2 separate regions of the Homo sapiens genome follow, and region 2 is linked to region 1. Evidence: promoter capture Hi-C in 16 types of primary human blood cells and fetal thymus (Javierre and others, 2016). All regions are on one chromosome and are shown on one strand. Each heading gives the region's core, a stretch centred on a gene start or on the middle of the fragment in contact. The rest is flanking DNA. Distances are from core to core; before and after follow the strand shown.

Region 1 (3,657 bases), core at 715-3,214:
AGTAGAAGTTTTCAGGGATGGGACCAGGCGGTTGTGATTTTTGGTTAAGTGACCTTGTAAGTCTTCATTGGGAATTTTTTGTTTGATAACGACCCTAAGGGAAATCAGAGAGTGGGCCACGTAGATACCAGGGCAGAAGAGCGTTCCAGTTAGAGGAAACAACAAGGGCAAAGGCTTTGAGGTGGCAGTATGTTTGATGTGTTTGAATACTGGTAAAGCGGTCAGAATAACTAGAGTAGAGGAGGTGAAGTCAGTGAGATGACGAAGGGTTGGGTAATCTTGGTCTAAAGAGCCAATATGAGTGAAATGGAAAGCTATTGTGTGGTTTTGAGCAAAGAGAAACATGATCTAATTTGAATTTTAGTAAGATGACATTGGCTGCTATGAATTAATTTTTTTTCTTACAATAATCCTATAAGTTCTGTTATTATCTTTGTAGTATATGTGAGGAAACTGAGAGATAAAGGGGTGAAGTAATTTATTCAAGGTCACACAAAGTTTTAGAGCCATGGTTTAAATGCAGGTAGTTTATTAGCTTCAGAGCCTGCAATTTTAACAGTTATGCTGATGTGATAATTTTACTCATGATCCAGTTAAAGCTTGTAAATAATTTTAGGATTCAGTGTTTTTACAGACCTGTGTGAAAGATGGGACATACCATTAAAATACTGACTTACCTGATTTTCTATTTCTTTTATTTGACTATGCTGTTGGTTTAATTGTTTATATTGGTCTTCCACGGTCTGGAGAAGGTCTTTGATGCTATTATCTTGTTTTTCTACAAAAGTCTGGATATAGAGAGTAGGTTGGTTATAAGTTGCTTTCCTCTTTCTTTTCTATTAATTTCCTGTAACACTATCATAATCTAAATTTTTAAACTAATAATGGATTTGAAAAATGAATATTGGCAATTCCTTCCCCTTGTATGCTTCTTTCAAATAGCACATATTTTTGTCCTTAACATTTTATTTAAATTGTACTATCTCTAAAATTTGATTTTCTGAACTTCAATTAAAAGAAAAAGCCCAGCATATTTTCATATGAATAAATCTTTTCCATTTACTGTATTATTTAATCTGTTTTAAACACTGGAGAATAGTTTTAAATTTTTTTTAACTTTTTACTTACCTTCAGTAATTTACAATAGTGTAATGACATAGTGTTCTAGATTGTATAATTTAACCGATTTGTAATTTTCATATAAAATGCAAATTTTCAGTGTTTTCATATATAACATTAGGGAAACAAAAAACTAACTTGAAATTATAATAGGAAATTTTATTTTCTGGAGATTATTTTTCTTGGAAAAAAAAGTATTTCAACAATGCAACAAAGTATTTCAAATGGCATGCCTTAGAAATATTTTTTTTAAAAGATCCACATTGAAAACATAAACATGAACCCTCTTTATTTTCTACTTACTTTAAGTGAAGTTACTTCTGGGTGTTCTGGAGTTTCAGGTTGATTTTGAATTAAGTTAGTTAGTTGCTCTTCTAAATATTTCACTTTTTGTTGAAGTAGAATTTTTTCTTCTAGGAGGCTTTCAAGTTTTGAGTTGAGTTCAAGTGACATATTCTTTACCTCTTCATTTTTGACTTGTAGTTTATATGTAGTTCTTCTCAGTTCCTTTTCTTCTTCTTTGATTTCACTGGTTTGCAGCGATAGATCATAAAAAGACTGATCAAATATGTTGAGTTTTTGAAATATGTCATTAATTTGGCCCTTCGTCTTATGGACAAAGTCTTTAAGACCATGTCCCAACTGAAGGAGGCCATTGGCTAAAATTTTTACATCGTCTAACATAGCAAATCTTGATTTTGGCTCTGGAGATAGAGAATCAAATGATGAATTGTCTTGATCAATTCTGGAGGAAATAACTAGAGGAACAATAAAAAGAAGGAGCTTAATTGTGAACATTTTTATCTTGATTTTCAATTTCAAGCAACGTGGAACTGTTTTCTTCTGGAAGCAGACCTAGACTTCTTAACTCTATATATACCAATATTTGCCCAGAAAAGGTAAGGTTGGTAGGTGAACATAGTTAATCATTAAGCCGTGTTAACTTGCACGAATGTAACCTTCTTCCACATTGAGTTAGATCAATGCTAAATGAAATCAAAGAAATGAGCAACTAACTTAATAGGTAATTTGAAATTGTATTTAACTTTGCTGTATTATAAACTACACATTCAATGCTATGGTGACTACCTGTTTTTAAAAGCTAATTTTACTTTTTTATGATTTTAAGAGATTTACAAGTCAAAAATAAACTTTTTTGTTGGGTAAATTTATTATTAAAGTTGAGGGGAAAAAAGTAATGAATTAAGTATGCATTTCTCAAACTGTACTTTAGTTCTTTTGGAAACAGTGATCCATTCCAAAAAACACTTTCTCTCTGAAGCCTTTCTCCACTCCCTCAGGTGGTGTTACGGCTCTCAATGCTGTGTTCCTCTGGTACTCTGTATAAATCAATGTATAATTATATGCTCCTCATTTTTTGTCACTATAATTGTTAATATGTTTTTTTGCATCACCTTATATGTCTTAACCATCCTTGTATATTGTCACAAAATCCCATATATAGTAAGTGTCATTAAAGACATTTCACTCCCTTTTCTCCACTGTGTTCTGTGTCTCTGTGTTCTAGGCTCTTTACCATGTGCTCGTTGAAGGAACAATGGATATGTGGTCATCTAGGACCAAACTAGAATTGAATCTTAAATACCTTCAATGTCACAAGCAGCTTGCCCATCATAAGTTTTTCTGAAGTTTGTTAGCTTAGTAACAATTTTGATAATATACATTTAACAAAAAGAGGAGATTAATAACATTTTTTTTTTAAAGATGATGTCTTAATGTATTGCCCATGCTGGTCTGGAAATACTGGGCTCAAGCAATTCTTTTACCTTGGCCTCCCAAAATTTACAGGCATGAGCCCAGCCGATTACAAGCGTGAGCCCAGCCAATTAATAATATTTCTAAAAATAAATGTTCCACTATGCTTCCAACTTAGTGTTAAAAAAATACTAAATGCTTATATTAGTGATTATTCTTATTGAGTGTTCATATTAAGAAATTTGTGAGAAAATAGCATCCTTTAAAACTGCTTAATCTTGACATATTAATATGGTGAAATTGTTAAGAATATGGGTGCTGGAGTCAGACTGTGGTGTGGGTCCAAAAGCCGGCTCTAGCTGTCTGGCCTTGGACAAGTTACTTAACCTCCCCATGGATTAGTCTCCTCATCTGTAAAGCTGGGGTAATTATAGTACATAATTCATAGTGTTATGATAATTTAACAATAATACATGTAGAGCACTTAGAACAGTGCTGGGCAAACAGGTAGTGCTCAAAATGCTAGTTATTATGTCACATGAAACTAACTTTTAACCTGTGTATGTGTGTGGGTATATATAATCAACCTTACCTAAAAGAAATTTTTCATAAAGTTAATAGCTTTTTAACACAGGGAAAAGTTTTATCATAATAAATTTCAGTGTAAATTATAAATTGTTAATACAAAATAAACCATTTCCAAATTTCTTTTCTTTTTTAGAGACAGGGTCTTGCTCTGTTGTCCAGGCTGGAGTGCAGTGGCATGATCATAGCTCACTATAGCCACGAACTCCTGGGCTCGAGCAAGCCTCCTCCCTCTGT
Region 2 (3,873 bases), core at 9-2,508, 130 kb before region 1:
AAAACAAATAAATAAGGCTGGGCGTGGTGGCTCACGCCTGTAATCCCAGCACTTTGGGAGGCTGAGGTGGGTGGATCACCTGAGGTCAGGAGTTCAAGACCAGCCTGGCCAAGACGATGAAACCTTGTCTCTATTAAAAATACGAAAAAATTAGCCAGGCATGGTTGCAGGTCCCTGTAATCACAGCTTCTCGGGAGGCTGAGGCATGAGAATTTCTTGAACCCGGGAGGCAGAGGTTGCAGTGAGCCGAGATCGCGCCATAGCACTCCAGCCTAGGAGACCAAGAGCAAAACTCCGTCTCAAAAATAAATAAAATAAAATAATGCAAACTCAGATATTATTTTGACAGTCAAAAACATTTGTCTCAAAACTTTCAACCTAGCATGTCAAGGTTCAAAACCTCTCTGAAACAATTGATTATTGTTCTGTATCCTTCACTAACCCCTTCCACACCACATCCATCCGGGCTGCGCTTTCAATGCCCCTCCTACGCGTTCTTAGCATATCATTCCTACCTACCACCTTTGCATTAAAATGATCTGCTTATCGGCTTCTCTGGCTAAACTGTAAGCTTCTGTATGGAAAGCCTCCACAAACCCCAGATGAGACTGAATTCCCCTATTACAATTGTCCACAATTCCCTATAGTTTGGCTTTATAATACTTACGCGTGTGATCATATTTGTAACAGGAATGGCAATTAATGCTCTCTAGTCTTACATACCCATTAAGGCTGAGGCTTTCTTTCACACACCATCAGTTTGCAATGTTTCAGGTGAGAAGACAATGGAGCAATATCTTCAGTATTCCAAGGAAAATGGTTTCAACCTAGAATTCTAAATGTAGCCAAGCTTTAATTCAAGTGTAGAAGAAAGACATTTACAGATGTCTGTGTTCTTAAAATTATACCCAACATGTACTCTTTCTTGGGAATTACTGGAGAATGGAAGCACAAAGCAAGAAGGCCAAACATAAAAGAAAGAGGATCCAGAAAATAGGGACTCCAACAGAAGCAGGAGAACTGACTCCTCAGGAGGAGCATGCAGGAGATCCTAGAGTGACACCTGCAAAACATTTCTAGAAAGCAATCTGTTCACGTTGGGGGCAGGGTTAACAGAGACCTCCAAGAAGGATGTTGTCACAAAATGAATGAAAATAAGAAACAACCAATGTATTTTAACATTATGAAAGGAAATTTATAATTCTCGAGGAATGTTTGAGGATGAATTAGTTATAGGTACATAGAAAAGTAAGCAAACAATATAGGCAATTATTAATTCCGGGAAAACCAAAACATATTGTATAAAAGAGGAAATGTAGTCATTGTACAATGTATGGTCATGTTGAATTAACCAAAAGTTGTGCAATGATGTAATTATATAGGGAGAAATGGAGGAGGAAAAGAATGTATGTGAATGTGTTTGTGATGGGGTGTGGTGTTGGGAGCATTATAAGAGAGCTTAATCTTCATCTTCCATAGCAGGAAGCCAAAATATATGAAACTGAACAATCTCCAAATAGCAGCAATACAAGAATGTTATTTAGGAAGACAGAGGCAAGTATGAGAAGAAACAACTAATAAAATCTTTTAAATGTTGCCTTTGAGTACTGGGGATTGGGGGTAGAAAAGGAGAAACAGTGTACTGCTTTTTTCATTATAAGCTTCATAGAATTATGTAACTTTAAAAACTCTGTACAAATATAAACTATTGTTTTAAATAAAAGAGGAAGAAACATTCAACATTTTTTTTCAAGCAATCTTTTGAAAATAAAAGGAATGCTGTGAGGAAACTGAGGGGTGTGAAAGAAAGCCTCAGCCTTAATGGGTATGTAAGACTAGAGAGCGTTAATTGCTATTCCTGTTACAAATATAATCACACGCATAAGTATTATAAAGCCAAACTATAGGGAATTGTGGACAATTATAATAGGGAAATTCAGTCTCATCTGGGGTTTGTGGAGGCTTTCCATACAGAAGCTTACAGTTTAGCTTTAGCCAAAGAGAAGCCGATAAGCAGATCATTTTAACACAAAGGTGGTAGGTAGGAATGATATGCTAAGAATGTGTAGGAGGGGCATTAAGCCCAGCTCGGATGGATGTGGTGTGGAAGGGTTTAGTGAAGGATGTAGAACAATAATCAATTGTTTCAGAAGGGTTTTGAACCTTGGCATGCATAGGTTGAAAGTTTAGAGGCAGGCTGGGCGCAGTGGCTTACACCTGTAATCCCAGCACTTTGGGAGCCCAAGGCGGGCAGATCACAAGGTTAGGAGATGGAGGCCATCCTGGCTAACACGGTGAAACCCCATTTCTACTAAAAATACAAAAAATTAGCTGGGCGTGATGGCATGCGCCTGTGATCCCAGCTACTGGGGAGGCTGAGGCAGGAGAATCGCTTGAACCTGGGAGGCAGAGGTTGCAGTGAGCCGAGATCGTGCCACTGCACTCCAGCCTAGGTGACAGAGCGAGACTCTGTCTCAAAAAAAAAAAAAGAAAGTTTAGAGGCAAATGTTTTTTGACAGCCGGAATAATACCTGGTTTTGTTTTATTTAATTTATTTATTTATAAATAAATATATGGAACACCATTATATAATATTTCTGTGATACAGACACGATAGATGTAAAGAACCTCAAGAAGATAGATAATAGTAGGATTCACTACAATAATTAGGAAGTGATAAGTTTTGAGTATTGTCTGTTTTTAATATAATTTATTTCATTATGTTATAATAAATATTCTGTTTATTTAATTTTTAATAATGGTTAACCACTGTCTCATAAAATTCCTGAATATAAGCCATCTATTCTTATGAGCCAGTATGAGCTGGCTCCAGCACTGTTGGAAATGTTATAATATCTTGAAATATTAATATTTGTGCTTTTTCTCCTCTGTACTTTTAAGGTAGGAGGCGGGACTTGATTCTAGGGGTGGGACTTGGATACTGGACTAGACTGAGGACTAGCCAAGACACTTTTTCACACTTTCTCCCTGGTGTTGCCAAGGAGAAAGCAGTTTTCAATCAGACCCACCCACCAGTGTGCCATGTCAATTTACCGTTGCCATGGCAACACCAGGGTTGTTATCACCCCTTTCCATGGTACCTAACCATTCAACAGTTACTACCCCTTTTCTGCATAAACTGCCCCTTAATCTGCATACAATTAAAAGTGGGTATAAATATGACTGCAAAACTACCCCGAGCTGCTACTCTAAGCCCTGTTCTGCGGGAGCAGTCACCGAGCTGTAACACTGACTGTTCAACAAAGCTGTTTTCTTCTTTCTCTGGATTACCCTTGAATTCTTTTCTGGGCAAGGCCAAGAACCCTCTCTGGCTAAGCTCCACTTTGGTGCTTGCCTGTCCTACATCACTTTCTTGCACTTGATCTTTTGCCTGTAACTCAGAGGTATCTATGCTGCCTTGAGAAGTATGACTGTTATAGTAGGAATGAAAATGGCAAGAAATAAAGGACCTTATTATGCATGGTAGATTAAAAATGTGCCTTCACCACTGGTTCTTCCTGAAATCCCAGTAATGTGACCTCAAAAAAGGTATAAGCCAAAAATGACCAACAGAAAGGGAGAGGAGACAACATAACAAAATTTGAAGAATGGAAGCAGGGGAATAAGTGAGAACAAATATTCCCATCTAGAGAAAATTCAGATCTAAACTTGAAGAGGAGGAGGGTAATAACAAGCTGATTCATGCTGTGAATCACCCCAAAAGCTCAGGAATGGGGGGAATTAGAAAATAAAATTGGAGGAAATCTCTGAGAAAGTAGAGCCAAAATATAAAAATGAAAATGAAAGCCGGGCACAGTGGCTCACGCTTGTAATCCCAGTACTTTGGGAGGCCGAGGCAGGTGGATCACCTGA

What was found. The method cuts DNA at HindIII sites, captures the fragments that hold promoters and counts their contacts. A CHiCAGO score of 5 or more calls a contact.
Region 2: a contact is called between a fragment that was not itself captured here and the fragment with the promoter of ANGPTL3 in region 1, in 2 of 17 cell types (erythroblasts and M2 macrophages). The highest score is 6.6, in erythroblasts.

The regions. Positions count from the first base shown.
Region 1 is chr1:62,595,827-62,599,483 of GRCh38, reverse strand. It overlaps ANGPTL3 (angiopoietin like 3), which reads right to left and starts at 1,964. Exons shown (of 7, transcript NM_014495.4): 1 at 1,423-1,964; 2 at 678-788. The coding sequence starts at 1,917. All of the region lies in intron 14 of DOCK7 (dedicator of cytokinesis 7), which reads left to right. The HindIII fragment of the contact is 12,927 bases long and covers 602-3,657 here.
Region 2 is chr1:62,727,397-62,731,269 of GRCh38, reverse strand. No RefSeq gene overlaps it. Among named protein-coding and RNA genes, the nearest start is that of DOCK7-DT, 41 kb to the right of the region's middle. The HindIII fragment of the contact is 811 bases long and covers 853-1,663 here.